Linked DNA regions of Homo sapiens: all the other regions are linked to region 3. Evidence: promoter capture Hi-C in 16 types of primary human blood cells and fetal thymus (Javierre and others, 2016). All regions are on one chromosome and are shown on one strand. The core of a region is centred on a gene start or on the middle of the fragment in contact, and the rest is flanking DNA. Distances in the headings are between cores, read along the strand shown. Region 1 holds the start of CD86 (CD86 molecule). Region 2 overlaps EAF2 (ELL associated factor 2). Region 3 holds the start of CSTA (cystatin A).

Region 1 (2,802 bases), core at 181-2,680, 270 kb after region 3:
CTTCAAAATTCCACTGGAGCAAAAGGAATCTTTACTGGAAAATTAAATTTTAATCTTCTGAAATAAAAGCAACAAAGCTTTTTCTCAAACCAGTAAGCACTGGGTAGATGAAAGTTACTTCGATTTTCAAAGAACAGTAATTATAAATACATAGTGACGGCCGGGTGCGCGGTGGCTCACGCCTGTAATCCCAGCACTTTGGGAGGCCGAGGTGGCCAGATCACAAGGTCAAGAGATCGAGACCATCCTGGCCAACATGGTGGACCCCGTCTCTACCAAAAATACAAAAATTAGCCGGGCGTGGTGGTGGGCGCCTGTAGTCCCAGCTACTCAGGAGACTGAGGAAGGAGAATCGTTTGAATCCGAGAGGCGGAGGTTGCAGTGAGCTGAGATTGCGCCACTGCACTCCAGCTTGGCGACAGAGCGAGACTCTGTTTCAAAAATAAATAATTAAAAATAAATAAATACATAGTGACTGGCGCCAGCTGCCACCACCCAAGAGAAGGGCGGGTGTGACTCCTTCCAGGAAGTCTCCACAGCATGGAGAAACCTTCTGGCGCACCACGAAGCGGGCAGGAAAGATTTTAGCTCTACCCCTTATGAATAGTGTGAACTTGGGCAAGTTTTTTAAGCCACAGTTACCCCATCTGTCAAAAAGAATGATGATGTCTTTCCAAAAGTCATTGTGAAGAATAAAATTCAATGAAATAGCACTAGTAAAGTACCCAGCACATCATGCATGTTCAATACATGGTAACTAATTTAATCACTCTACCTCCTTCCACTACCCAACCCTGCCCAGAATCTCCCATGGCCTGATTATGACATATTAACTGAGTTTTGCATTTTCTCCTTATACCTCTTTTTTCTCTTTCTTTTTCTTGATCTCTCTCCCTCTACCTTCTCTATCTCATTCCTCCACCCTCAGACCAAACTGACCCTGGTAGACAAAAAACATATTCCCTGTTATTTGTCATTCTTATGCAGATATTTTAAAAATTCCTGATTCTTCACTAAAATCAATGACTGTAACATTCAGTATTTGAATAACAGATTTACAAAACCAAAATTAGGCACCTAAAAATATATATAACTACCACCAATGAACTGCTTTGGGCATTGCAAATAATTCTTGCCTTTATGTGCCAAAGATCTTTTGTAGAAAAAGAAAGCTTCTCCACTTAGGAACTAAGTGAAGGACACACATCAAAGCACCATCTTCAACCTCAGCCTTTCACTGCAGTCACAACTCATAACTTCTCTGCAAAGAATAAGAATTATTACTCACCACTGGGGATCCATTTTGGCTGCTTCTGCTGTGACCTAATATCTGGAAATGACCCCACTCATCCGTGTGTCTGTGCTAGTCCCTGTTACAGCAGCAGAGAAGCAAAGCTTTCACCCTGTGCAAGCCTTCCTCGGCAATGACTGTATACCTACCCAGCTAACTTTCTTTAAGAGAAGCTGTTCCTCTTTTCTCTACAGATTTTGACCACACTTGAGGAAGAAATTTAACCCTTTCCTTGCAGTTTAAACTCATTGACGTAGGTCTATATGTATTAAAGAATATATAATTCAGTAGCTTGAGTTCCAGACATGACGTTAAGATGAGCCTGAATAAAAAATCTCCCCTCTTGAAATTCCCTCAAAAAACCTAGAAAATAAAATAATTAGAAAGAGAAAACAAACCTCCGCAGCAACAAAATAGAATAAAGAGGCATTCTACAGATTTTGATAAGATAATAAAAAGTGATTTATTGTGGATGTGGATTGGGAGTGAGTAGCCACCTAACCCTGCCAATTTCCACAACCAAAGTGTGGAGAGTTTCACTGAGCTGGGGTGGGGGGATGGGAGATGGGGAGATGTTCTGTAAGGACTGCATAACCAAGGAGGGCAGACAGAAGCTACTGCTTTTATTATTTCATTCCTACTATAGCCAAGGATTACATTGATGAAAGCGAATATTCTGAAACAGAAGTCTGAAAAAAAGGCAGCATTATAAAATTAATAGATGTCCCTAAGAGACAAACATAGAATTAATCAAGCAGAAACTATACTAGAAGATATTTCCTCGTATGAATTAAAATGGGCATCATCTAGAAACTCAAACTGTTTAGTGTATCAAAGCAAAAGTTATGAAAATCGATTCTCATCCAGACAAATCATTTTGAACATTTTAAATTCCAAAGGCAAAGCTAAAAACAAAATGAAAACAGAATGACTACAGAGAAACAAAAAACAACTTGGCATCTTACTCAACCCTAAATGGCAAAAAACAACAGAACAATATCTGCAGAATTTTGAATTAGCATTATCTACCTAGATAAGATGCCAGTTAAGTGTCAAGTCAATAGAAATATGTCACCAAGCAGGCAAGAAAACAACAACTGCAACAGAAATACCACCACCAAGACAGCCTTCCTAAATAAATTATTTAAGGATATATTCCAGAATAATAAATGAATTAAAATAGCCTTAAAATGGAGAAGCCATGGCTGAAAACACCAGTGCTGAGCTTTAAAGCAAGTTAAACATGGAGAAATAAGGCTAAATAATTATAAATTAGTTTAGACCAAAATGCTAAATAAGAAAAACTTATTAGAAGTAGATTACATATATTATTTCAAGGAAGTTTAAAAATAGCAGATGACATCACTGCTAACTAGAGCAAGGAAGCAAAATCAACACAATTATTAATCTTCAAATAAGAAGATAGAACAATGATTATTTTATCAACTTTGATAATTTCATCTGGATTTGAGAATTTTAAAAAATGAAGACAGCAATAATATAAGTTATCT
Region 2 (2,998 bases), core at 397-2,896, 470 kb after region 3:
ATTTTAGAGAATGTATAATGGCTTCCTTCAATCCAGTTATACAGAAGTATCTACAATAGGATAAAAAGTGTACCTATACCTATAGAAAGCATTTAGAAGCAAAACAAGCTTTTATATATCACAGGGTAATGTGGTAAAACGCTTTTTGCTTAGGATCTCCACCAAATTTAAACTTAGAAAAAGATTAAAACATTTTTGTACCACACAGAAATAACTCCTATATTATAATGTGACTTAATAAATTTTTTATTGACATTTCCTTAGAAATTTATGTTTATAATATAATTTATTTCATTAAACCACATACCTTGTTTTTTTTACAGTGATGTTGCTGCTGAGTTTTTCTAGCCGACATTCTCCAGTATCATGGTTAATAATCAAAATGCATTCTTTTAAGTAAGGTTTTTTTGAACCTTTGAAAACAGTTACTGGTGGAGTTGAACCCTGTTTAAAAAGTTAATTATTATTACTTAAAATTTATCATAGGAATTCACTTGGGAAGGCCTTTGAAATCTTGATTCTGGGTTTCTCCTTCTATGTTATACTTCAAGTCACCCATAAACTACCTAAATTTACTACCCTGAATCCAAAGAGTGTAGTAAAAAAGACAGATGAAGATAGGCTGAAATCTCAAAGCTGCTGTCATTGAGGAAAGGGAAGACAGGAGGTACTCACCTTGGGACAGTAAAGATTTGTTTCTTTGGCCTATAATGAGTAATTGAGATTCAATTCGAACACAACCAATATATTTTATGGATAAGGAAACAGAGCCTTGAATCATATTTTCTATTCCTCCTTTTTTTTTTTTTTTTTTTGAGACAGAGTCTTGCTCTGTTGCCCGGGCTGGAGTGCAGTGGCACGATCTCGGCTCACTGCAACCTCCACCTCCTGGATTCAAGTGATTCTCCTGCCTCAGCCTCCAGAGCAGTTGGGACTATAGGCATGGACAACCACGCCCAGCTAATTTTTATATTTTTAGTAGAGACGGGGTTTCACCATGTTGGTCAGGCTGGTCTCGAACTCCTGACCTCAAGTGATCCACCCATCTCAGTCTCCCAAAGTGCTGTGATTACAGGCAGAAGCCACTGTGCCCAGCCTCCTCATCTTCTTTCTTATTGCTTTATAAGTTTAATTTTTAAAATCTGGCATTTTCTTAAAGCAGTACCTCCCTATGCATATTAAGGAACACCTCTTACACTAAACCCACTAATTAAATTTAGCATAATTAAAAGTAAGATAAGCAGACATTATGTGCTTAATGATGTCATATGAAAGTACACTGCGCCATCCATAAAATACTCTTGCCAAAAACCACACAAAAACCCCAAAGAATTTAATTCTTATCAAACCCCAAAGAATCTGTAATCCAGCCTGCCCTTAGATATATAACTACCAATATATAGAAAATAGAAGGAATAGAGGAACAAGTTAAATACATCCAGATAGAAGTAATTTGAAGTCCAGAATGTAGGTATATTCTCTAGGACAGATAGTACGGTTTTTCCAACAAACCAATGGCATAAAAAAGAGAAGAGAGCCAGGTGCAGGCACTGTAGTACCAGCTACTTGTGGAGGATGGGTGCTGAAGCAGGAGGACAGCTTGAAGCCAGGAGTTCTAGGCTTCAGTGTGACATAATCACACCCGTGAATAGCCACTGCACTCCAACCTGGGCAACACAGTGAGACCCTGTCTCTAAAAAAGATAAATTAAAAAAGGGGTGGAGAAGAAAGGAAGGGACTTTTAAAGAATAAAAGAGACAAGAAATACAATATTCAAATACAATGTAGAAATCTTATTTGGATTCTAGTTAGGACATTTTACAGACAAATGTCTGTAAAAAACACGTTTTTGAGATCATCACAAAATTGTGACTATGGACGAAGTATTATCAATTATGTTATTTGTGATAATAGCATGGTGCTTAGATAGAAATGTCCTTATCAGTTAGAGATACATAAGTAAGCATTGATGAAATGGCACATTGTCTGGGATTTGCTATAAAATATGCCAAGGAAAAAAATGGTAAGACATTAGATTAAAAAATAAAAAGATTAGCAAAATGTTGATAATTGTTAAAGCTCAGTGATGGGTACATGTAATTCATTATACAATTCTGTTGGCAATAAAAGAAACCTAGATCATTACTAATAAACTACATCTACTTACATGCTCCTCCCCTATCTTTTGTCCCTGCTCCATCAAACCTGAAGGAATTTTACGTTTGTCATTCTTTTGCTTTATCCCACATATATGTATTTCTAAACAATTATTTGTGTATGTTTGTCTTTGGAGTTTATAAAAGTACATTAAATTTTAATGGATTTATCATAATAATTTTATCAAATATTACAAAAATAATAAAATAGTACTGTTAGATCAGGTTAGAAAAGGATGACCTCTAAAAAGGCTAAGTGGTGTATCATATTAAAGTTAATCATTAGAGATTTACTAAATGAGCACTAGGAGGAGTATAAGATAAATTAGGTAATTGAAAATGCCATAAAAGATGGGTAGGTTAGAGATTTCTGAAGGTATGGAGGGAAAATTATAAATGTAAAATAAAGGAACAGTTGTTTGTGGGTTTTTTACCTCTCCCAAAGACTAAAGTAATCTACAGAAAATCAAGAATGCACAACACGTAGATGAAGACATGTCTGGGCTAGCTCTAAAACGGTTAGATGTGGAGCACTTAGTTGAAGCCCTGGTAAGCTGGAGAGTCAGGAGCATGATTATAACCAAACAAAGTGGGTCTACTTGGCTGGTAAGTAAATTTTTCAGATGTGTTGACTGAAACAAGTAAGATACCCCAAAATAGTTACCTAAGGACTCCAAATTACAGTTGATAAGAGATTTGTGCAAGATATTCTTAATGATATCTGTACTCTTAATTAGAATGGAATACATCTAAAAATTACAATGTATTATTGTTCTCTGAGCTCCTGAAAATAAGAACTAATCATTAATTTTTAAAAAATTGCTCTCAGCACCTGAAGAAGT
Region 3 (3,036 bases), core at 378-2,877:
GGGTGGCAGCAGCAGCAGCACTTGGGAGTCTGGTAGAAATGCAGAATCTCAGACCTACCCCAGGTCCCCTGAATCAGAATCTAAGGTTTATCAAGACGTGCAGGTGATTCATGTGCACATTCAAGTTTGAGAACATTGATCTGATCTGGGGATTCACATGAAGACATTACTGACTTAATATCATCTCCCAGGAAAAAAGCTCCAAGATATTTATTTAAAAAAAGAACTCTTGAAAGAGAAATAATTAGTCCCCAAGAATGAGTGATGGGATTCTAGGCATCTGGCCCCTTAGAGAGCTTTCTAGTTCCCAGAATATACAGGATCCCAACTCTTATAATCACACAAAAAGCTGATCTTGTTTTCCAAGCTGTCATAGAATGATGTTTCAGAGAGAAAAAATAAGAAGGAATAATATAAGAAAATAAGGCAACAAACTAAAAACCTAAAGTAGTAATTTGTACATGTTTTCCTTTCATAAAATATGCAAATAAATGTTTACTACATAGCTAGATGATAGCTAATCACACAAAGAAAAATATATCAGGGATGGGTGTGGTGGCTCACGCCTGTAATCCCAATACTTTGGGAAGCCTAGGTGAGTGGATGGCTTGAGCCCAGGAATTCAAGACCAGTCTAGCAACAGAATGAAATGCCATCTCTAAAAACAAAACAAAACAAAACCCCCCAAATCAGCCAGGCGTGGTGGCATATGTCTGTAATCCCAGCTACTCAGGAGGCTGAGTGGGGAGGATCGCTTGAACTCAAAAAGTTGAGGCTACAGTGAGCCGTGATCAGACCATTGCACTCCAGCCTGGGTGACAGAGTGAGACCCCATCTCTTAAAAATGAAACAAAACAAAACAAAAAAGAAGAAGTGAAAAACACATCAATCTGCTAACAACATTGAGTTCTATTTTTCCATATATAATTTGGTGCCCTATGACATTTCGGAGTCACTATAGACTGTCACCTCTGTTCTATTAGTTGAATTACCTTTTAACTATGAAAAGACTAAAACACTATCTATTTGGGCAAAAGTGTATGAAGTTTGTAAGTAGATTGCCTTTACAATATTATTCTTCATTCAATCTATTTAAAAAAATTTTCCCTGCAGTGCATTCCAAGACTACTTCATCAAATTGTTAATAACCTTAGACTTCAATTACACGTTGGCTTCACTTGGTGAGATTAGAAAAGTTTCATCAGAAACTGAATTAGTAATTCTAGAATCATATCTTGTAAGAGCTTTAGAGAAGATACAATACAAATTCTTTTACCCATGGAGAAAATGAAGCTCAGAGAAGAAATGTGATTTGCTCAAGGTCACACTCACAGTTTGGGGATTATTTGAGGCTTCATCTGAAAAACTCTTATTTCATCTTAGTTGTAAAGAAACCTGAACAAAGCCACAAACATCCTAAACTTCTGGTTTTCATGTTCAACCACAGCCTTTCCACAGGGACAACTTATGAATCAAGATTTTGGCTCAGACTTTTTCCTGAATGGCATCAACTCACCTTATCAACAATCTCCTGGATTTCTGGAGTGGCGGGTTTGGCCTCAGATAAGCCTCCAGGTATCATTTTGGCTGATTGCTTCTTTGCTGGACAGGATGCTGGAACCAAAGTGAACAGGGAAGTGTGGAGACTCGTGTTTTAAAAGAGGCGTTCACTAGCTCCGCCTATAGAATGCTTTATTTTCCACAAACAGCAAAGAGGCATGGGGAAAATGAGTATGCCGCCAGGCAAGTCTTCTTGCTTCCTGGAGAGAATATGCTACATGGAATTTGGAAGAAAGAGGGGTTGGAGGATGAACAAATGGGCAAGTACAGGAGTCATGTCCTAACAAGCATCAAACGTCCCTGCATTCTCTTTGACAATGGTTCCATCCTGTTGCATCATCTGAATTATGAAATCTGAAGCCGCAACTAGAATTTCCAAATGTTTTAAAACTTCTAACACAAAATTTTATTTTTTTTAAAGCAAAACTTACTAATAATGTCAAGGTTAGTTTAGAATTTACTTGACTTTAGAAAGAAAGCAAAAGGATCTATCTGGAGGACCTTGGCTGGATGTGTCTTCTTTACTCTTATTTAAATATCTGGAAATGTTTAACATACGGTAAAACACAAAGAATAAAATAACAAACATCTATATTTCTATCACTCAGAATTAAAACTTTTAACCCTTTTGTCATATTTGCTTGCTGTTTTTTATTTTTGTAGTTATTTTTAGGAAATAAAATATTACAGATATGGAGGAAGCCCCACACCCCACGCAACCTTGCCTTCCAGAAGGCAAAGTACATGGTGAATTAATATCCTTCCAGGCCATTTTTATATGTGTGTCTTTAAAATTAAAATATGTCTTACTTGGTGTGTCTTTAAAATTTCACTTAAATTGTATGCTAAATATATTCTATGTTATGTTCCTTTTTCTATTCAACATGTTTTTGAGCCTTTCTATGTTGATATACACATAGATCAATCCACAGATAGATCAATCCTGTTCATTTCCTTTAACTGTGATATGCTATTTTATGCTAGACCTATCTATTTAGTCTACCTATCTAATTGCTATATTCTAGTTCATATTTTACATACTCATTTCTCTATTGATGACGATTTTCGTTGTTTCTGGTGTTTCATTCTTACAAACAACGTTGCATTTTTTCTCCTTTTTACATGAGTGAGGGCTTCTGCAGACAACTTATCTAGAAGCAAAATGGCCACATTGTGTGAATATTTATGTATATTATTTTATTCAATTTTGGGAATATATAATACATACACAGGATAAAAATGTTTGGAAGGAACCAGGCTTTACAATATAAGGAATTATTCACTCACTTAATTCCTCAGACACCCTTCTACTCTCCAGAGACAATTATTGGCACCAACTTCTTCTGTATCCTTCAGAGACATTCTTTACACATACAAATATAAAAATAATTGGAGGCTGGGCACGGTGACTCACGCCTGTGATCCCAGCACTTTGGGAAGCCGAGGTGGGTGGATCACAAGGTCAAGAGATTGAGA

The links. Contacts are between HindIII fragments. The CHiCAGO score rates a contact against its expected background, and 5 or more counts as called.
Region 1: a contact is called between the fragment with the promoter of CD86 here and the fragment with the promoter of CSTA in region 3, in 8 of 17 cell types (monocytes, M1 macrophages, M0 macrophages and 5 more). The highest score is 12.2, in monocytes.
Region 2: a contact is called between a fragment that was not itself captured here and the fragment with the promoter of CSTA in region 3, in 1 of 17 cell types (monocytes). The highest score is 5.6, in monocytes.

What each region holds. Positions count from the first base shown.
Region 1 is chr3:122,053,990-122,056,791 of GRCh38, reverse strand. It overlaps CD86 (CD86 molecule), which reads right to left and starts at 1,430. Exons shown (of 7, transcript NM_175862.5): 1 at 1,289-1,430. The coding sequence starts at 1,302. It also overlaps a transcript of ILDR1 not described here. The HindIII fragment of the contact is 6,821 bases long and covers 1,398-2,802 here.
Region 2 is chr3:121,852,133-121,855,130 of GRCh38, reverse strand. EAF2 (ELL associated factor 2) reads right to left here. Exons shown (of 6, transcript NM_018456.6): 3 at 308-444. Among named protein-coding and RNA genes, the nearest start is that of EAF2, 18 kb to the right of the region's middle. The HindIII fragment of the contact is 3,072 bases long and covers 111-2,998 here.
Region 3 is chr3:122,323,839-122,326,874 of GRCh38, reverse strand. It overlaps CSTA (cystatin A), which reads right to left and starts at 1,627. Exons shown (of 3, transcript NM_005213.4): 1 at 1,517-1,627. The coding sequence starts at 1,582. The HindIII fragment of the contact is 6,914 bases long and covers 1-3,036 here.